Regions from separate parts of the Homo sapiens genome. Here region 1 is linked to region 2. Evidence: promoter capture Hi-C in human tissues and cell types (Jung and others, 2019). All regions are on one chromosome and are shown on one strand. The core of a region is centred on a gene start or on the middle of the fragment in contact, and the rest is flanking DNA. Distances in the headings are between cores, read along the strand shown.

What was found. The method cuts DNA at HindIII sites, captures the fragments that hold promoters and counts their contacts. A contact is called where the count stands out against the background at its distance.
Region 1: a contact is called between a fragment that was not itself captured here and the fragment with the promoter of GAL3ST1 in region 2, in 2 of the 25 tissues and cell types used here (lymphoblastoid cells and spleen).

The regions. Positions count from the first base shown.
Region 1 is chr22:30,933,403-30,936,449 of GRCh38, forward strand. MORC2 (MORC family CW-type zinc finger 2) reads right to left here. Exons shown (of 26, transcript NM_001303256.3): 18 at 1,846-1,920; 19 at 1,379-1,759; 20 at 658-789; 21 at 64-118. Among named protein-coding and RNA genes, the nearest start is that of MORC2-AS1, 13 kb to the left of the region's middle. The HindIII fragment of the contact is 4,500 bases long and covers 1-3,047 here.
Region 2 is chr22:30,573,219-30,576,313 of GRCh38, forward strand. It overlaps GAL3ST1 (galactose-3-O-sulfotransferase 1), which reads right to left and starts at 1,447. Exons shown (of 4, transcript NM_001318104.2): 1 at 1,248-1,447. RefSeq lists enhancers at 5-686, 687-1,367. The HindIII fragment of the contact is 15,540 bases long and covers 1-3,095 here.

The DNA of each region.
Region 1 (3,047 bases), core at 428-2,927, 360 kb after region 2:
GGCTCCACTTCCACTCCCACTCCCACCCCCGCCACAGGCTGCCAAGTCACTCCCCCAGCTCACCTTTCTGAGCTCTCTTGAGGTCAGCCGAGTCCTCTTCCCCAGCACTGTCTGAGAGCTGCGTGGAGAGCAGTCTATTAGAGGCATCCCCAGTGCCCCCCAAGAGCAGACTTGTGCCTTACTGGCCACCCGGGGTCATCAGCCATCATCTTCACGACTTCCTGTGCTACAGTTTAAATCACCAAGCCCCGTTGAGAGCCACACTCCAAAATCACTGTCCAAGGTACCTACCCTTCTGCTACCTTTACGAACAAGACAGCAGGCAAGGGACATGTGTTTCAAGCCTCACTGATGTACGTCTGTGTGACTTCAGGCCTGTGGTTAAGCCAGAAGCCAGTCTCACTCAAGACCCTACCTGGCACCATGTTTAGTCACTTGTGTAACTGAGAGTCCTTGAGAGATCACTAGGCTTCTGGAAGGCTCATGACACGAATATAAACAGAGTTGGTGCAGACTGCTGGTGGGGGGGGTAGACTGCTGGTGGGTTGTGTAGACTGCTGGTGGATGGTATAGACTGCTGATGGGGGGTGCAGACTGCTGGTGGGGGCTGCAGGCCCTAGAGAGAGAGGCTTTGAGAACCTCACCTCAACCACTCACCTCATTCGAGTCCTTCTTTTCCTCCTTCACAACAAATCTGCCCCGCTTGCACCTCTCCTTCCTCCTCTCAGCTTCCTCCTCAACTTCTTCCTCATCAGAAACTGCGACACTCCGCTTCCGACTAGGGGTAGCCTAGAGCAAGAGGAGCGTGAGGATGTGAGGGGCCCTGTTCAGCCTCTAAGGAGCAGGAAGATTTCATCTAGCCTAAAGGAGTCGTTCCAAGAGGAGCTGTACTCCCTGCAATCCCTGCCTGACATTACTTGGAATGTACACAGGCAACCCACTGGCCCCTGCGCCATAAGGATTTTTGCTCAAAGCTATCATAGGAGAAGCTTCTCAATTCCCTTCCCACCTTAGTCTACCTGGCCAACTAGCTGTCACCTCCCCAAGAACCACCGACCACTGCCGCAGCCCACTCAGGCTATCTGTCACCAGATGACTGACCTAAGCCCACACTTCGAGAGCCAGTGGAGGTGACTCAAGTTTGTGGCAGACCAAAACTCGGAGGCAACAGTGAAGAGCTCGCTGTACAGGCAACCGATGTGCTGTCTGGCCCCAACAAGTCCGTTCAGCTATCAAGGCTTCCCGTCCTCAGGGGCAGCAGCAAAGCTTTAGATTCAGTATCTTCCGAAGGCTCCCCCAGTACAGCTGTGACACTGCACAATTCCATTCCTACACTACTGACACTGGGCTGGGGTATTAAAGAGGACAAGCGTCTCACCGGGGAGAGTTTGATGGGTGACTCTGTCTTCTTCACCACTGGAGTCTTGATGACTTTGGGAGAAGGAACCTCCCGAGGGCTCTTGGAGTTGGGCAGTAAAGATGGTGACAGTTGCTGCACCAGAGGGGCAGGTCGGGATGCAGTCTTGACGAGAGTGTTGGCAGGCTTTCGGGGTGCCTCAGGTGGCTGGAGCAGCCTAGATGTGCTGGCCTCCTCCCGGGCTGCCAAAGCAGGGAGCTTTGGGGTACTGCTGATGACAGGAGCCTTTCGGGGCTGGCTGGCTGGTCTAGGAGTTGGCAAAGAAGGGGGTCTGCTGGGGGCGTTCCTGATCACAGCAGGTAAAGGGGGCGACCGAGGACGCTGAGGTCTACGCACAGGTTCCTAAAAAAAGGCCCACAGAGAGTGAGAACACTGATCCTAGCATGAGACACCTGAGGAAAAGCCCTTCCCAGGCCCCTGGACTTCACCTCAGTGGAAGGTCTGGTGGTCACTTCCAAGGGCAATTTCTTCAGGTCTGCTTGGGAGCGGATGGGTGTGGTTTTCTGCAAGGCAAACATCATGATGAAGTTGTTTGCATATTTTAGTATACTTGAGCAAACTTTTTGGATAGTGTCTGGAACCAGGGACAAAAAAAATAGAAAACCTGAGCCATAGTCCTACTCTTACAAACCTCCTGTTCTCATTGGGGAGACACAAAATACATAAATACTCAACTATCAGCAAATTACAGGAAACTGTGTGATTAATCCAGCAACTGAGAGACTGGCAAAAAGTGTCAATAGACTAAATTCCTATAAAAGGAACCCAAAAAGGTAGAAAGGGCCCGAAGGATAGGGAAAACCTGGATGAAGCCAGAAAGGAAAGGTGGGATTTAGCAGCTAGGGAGGCATATAAAACATCATGGGTTAGTGAGAGCACATCTGCACAGACACAGAAGCCAAAAAGGGAAATGGTTGTGTACTAAATATGATAAACAGATGATATCACAGACATATCTAGAAAAAAACATAGAAAAAATAAAAATGTAAGTGAATAAGCAGTTTAAAAGGAATAAAAGTGGACACATGAAAAATTATGCAATCTTAGAAATATTAAGGAAATTAAATTATAAAACATGCATCTTTGCCTATGAAATTTGCAACAACATTTAAAAATAATGCTCTCATATACTGCTGGTAAATAATAGAAATTAACACATCTCTGGAGGGTACTTTAGAAATAGTTGCAAAAAGCCATAGAATTTTACAATGGACCTTTTAAGTCCTTTAATTTCACTTCTAGAAAGTCATCAAAACAATTATGTGTATGTGTATGTATTAATATAAAACATATACATGGCATTATCTCCCTATTTCTATTAAAAAATATATGTGTGTTATGTGTAGGTATTCATGAGTTCATGACAAGTTGGAAGGATGTATGGTTAATGATGGTTACCTCTAAGGCAGAATTTTTATTTTCTAGAGTTTTATACATTCTAAATGAATTGGACCACTTTGAAGTATATAAGCATTTTTTCTTAAGAATAAGCAAGGTGTTATTCTTAAAATAACACTGTTGGCAAATAGTACACGTGGACCTGGAGGTTGGGGTTGGAAAGCTTTGGCAAACAACGCGGGTGAGTGGAGGGTAAAACTGAGCCTGAGGGAACAGGAAAGCTACTGAAGGT
Region 2 (3,095 bases), core at 197-2,696:
GGCAGCCCAGGCAGATCCAAGAAGGCAGGACCCCAAAGGAGCAGAGAGAGGTCATGGGTTGGGCTGGGGTCCTGAAATGGGGGCCAGGGCAAGACTCCTATGATTTGGAGTCAGCTCAGCTACCTCTGAGCCATGTGACCTTGGACAAGTCATTGAATTTCCCTGAGCCTCAGTATCCCCCTCTGGATAATGGGGATAGGTAGCAATGCCTCCTTCACAGGACAAGGAACAGTGCGTACACAGTGACTGCTCTGGTCCAGGACTGCCCTCCTGTGCCCCCTGTGTGGGCCTGGATGAGCCTCACCCTCTCTGGGCCTCAGGTCACCCCGTCAGTAAAGGAAGAGATTGGGTTTTCCCAACTGGAATGGACAGTCCTCTACACCTCTCTCCCCTCTGGAGGATTCTCATGCACCTGTCACCGCGGCAGCCCGGGGATCAGGTGTCAGGCATGCTGCCTTCTCTCCCTTTCCTTCCCCCTGGTGTGGGTTACAGCAGCCAGACATGCCCATCACCTCTCTGGCTCTGGGCAGCTGGGCGGGGCAGTTCCCACTGGGCAGGGCTCGGTCTGTAGTGTGCTCTGTGCTGGTACCAAAATGCTGGCCTGGCACCGAAGGGGCAGATCAAGCTGGACCCCCTTCCTGGGCACTGGGCTAGGAAACAGGAACTGTAGGATTTCCTATAGGACCCCTCCTGGATGCCAGGGTTTGTCCCACTCTCCCAAACCTCTCCTTGGTGGCTTTGCTTCCTCTGGGGTACAGGCCAGGGCCTTCCCCCAGCAGAGGGGATCCATCCCTTACTATGGTCTCCGGTTCCTGCTCTGATCCCCTTTCTAGGAAGGGCTGATGGAGACAGGGGAGATCTCTGCCCCTCCTCCCCTAGGGCTCTGGCCACTGTGTCCAAGATTAATCATTAACGCACTCCCAGCTCCAGCTCAGCCCCAGCAGCCTGCCTTCTGCCCCACCCATCCCACCTTCAGGGACTGGGAAGCCCTGGAAGGGGGGTTGGGGGACAGGGGAAAAAACCAAGGGCATGGGGGGCACCAACCTGTGCCCTCCCTGGCCCCTACCAGGCCACCCTCTGGCAGTGGGCAGGGGTACCCAGCGCTTAGAACAGCGGTACTGCACTCCTACTCCCCTCCTCCGGCGCGTGGTCCCAGTTTGGGGGTTAGCGTAATGTGGGCGGTATCCCCAGGGAGTAGACTGAGGCAGGGCTCAAGCTGGCAGTGGGTGCTGGAGCCCGGGACGTACCTTGTCCCCGTCCTCCTCCGCCTCAGCGTGGCTGGCTCGGCCCGGGCCGCGCCGCCCGGGCGCTCACTGGGCGGCGGGGCGCACCCGGCCGGGCCCCCCGCTCCACCAGGCCTGGTCCATGCCCCCGCCCCCGCCGCCGCTGCCGCGCCGCGCCCGCTCCCGCGCCGCGCCCGCTCCCGGCCAGGTGCCGCCGCCAGCCTGGCCCAGCCTCCGGCGCCGGGGCCAATGGACGCCCCGGACCCCAGACCCCTCCCCGCCCCGGGCCGGCCCCCTCCCCGCCCCATCCCGGCCCCTCTGCGCCCGCCCGAGACGCACAGAAGCCGCATTCAGCGCGCTGGGGCGCAACGCTGCGCCCCCGCCGCCGGCCCAACAAGGCCCGTTTGTCTCGGACGCGCCAACGGGGCCATTGTCCCGCCCCGGTCCTCTGGCTCAACGGAGCCCCCAGCCCAGAAGACTTGAGGATGCCCAGGCTTGGTGGTGGTGGGGAGGGGAGCCAGGGCTCTGGGAAAAAGGCGGCGGACGGACTATTGCTTAACTTTGGTTGGGGGGTCCTGGGGCCCTTAGGATCCAATGGATCATACGGCTTCTTGCTCTAGTCAGTGCCAACTGGGGACGACACATTTTTGGCACTCATGGGAGTGGAGGGAGCTCAAGCAAGAGACTGAGCTCCAACTGGTCCTGTCACCTGGAGGTCTCAGCTGTCACTCTCTAGGGTGCCAATGAGGGCTGAGCAAGGCCACCAGGAGGCAGGTGTCCCATCCAGGCCCTGTCTCATTTTCCAGGCCTGGCCTTTCCTTCTTCACCCCAGAGGAGCAAGACCATGGATGAGGACCAATGCCTGCCAGGGGCCAGGAATCCTCAGCGCCAGCTGTGGGCAGTAAGGAACCAGCTGGCCACCCAGTGGGGCCTGGGATGCGTCAGAGCCCCACTGCCCCCGCCATTACTGGGCGATTCTGGAATGGGGAAAATTCCACATCAGCATGGCTGCCAGGAATTTTTCCGTATCTGATGGGCCTGCGCTCTAGCCGTGTGGCCCTGGATGCACAGTTCCCCAGACAGGCCTGAGTTGTCTCCCGGGGCTGCAGGCTCTGGCTCCAGAGGTCCTGACCCTCTGTCCCAGCCTCTGGAGGCAACCTCACTCCCTCCCATCGCCGTGTGCATGACAGAGTGGGAATGGCACACAGCCCTCTCCTTCCACCCACAGCCAGTCCCAGCTGAGAGGGGGAGCCCTAGGTTTTCTGCTCCCCAGGCCAGAGCCTGCCCAAGCTCTTGCCTTCCCCCTGCACAGGTTGGACCTACATCCACTGCCACAAAAACATTCTCTGCCCACACAGCCAGCAAACAGTGAGAGGCAGAGGGCAAGGCCCTCAGGTGCCTAGATTCAGGGAAAGTAGAGCCATTCCAAACCCACACTTCCTCAGCGTGGCCCCAACCCTCGACAGCACTCACCCCGGGAAGTGAGTCCTGGGAGGGGCTGAGTGAGCACTGGGAGACCCAGGTTGTGGTCCTGGCTCCATCATGATGCACTGGCGGTTCCAGGCAAAGGCATATCCCAATGGGCGTCAGCAGGGACACTGCCAAGGTCAGCGGGGAAGCTGTCAGGCAGGCCTCACAGACCGTAAGTGCAGCTGCTGCGGAATCCTACGCTGGGAGGTACTCAGCGGTTCTGCCAACGCGCCAAGGCAAGCTGAGGGCAGGACCTCACCGCAGACCCACAGATCCTTCCGGTTCTGGCTTTTACCTTCTGGGCCGAGTCCAGCAGGAAGTGATATAAATCAGTTGGTGTTTACCAAGTACTTACCACACACCTGATATTACCAAGTCCATAAGGTCTGAGACTATAAAGTT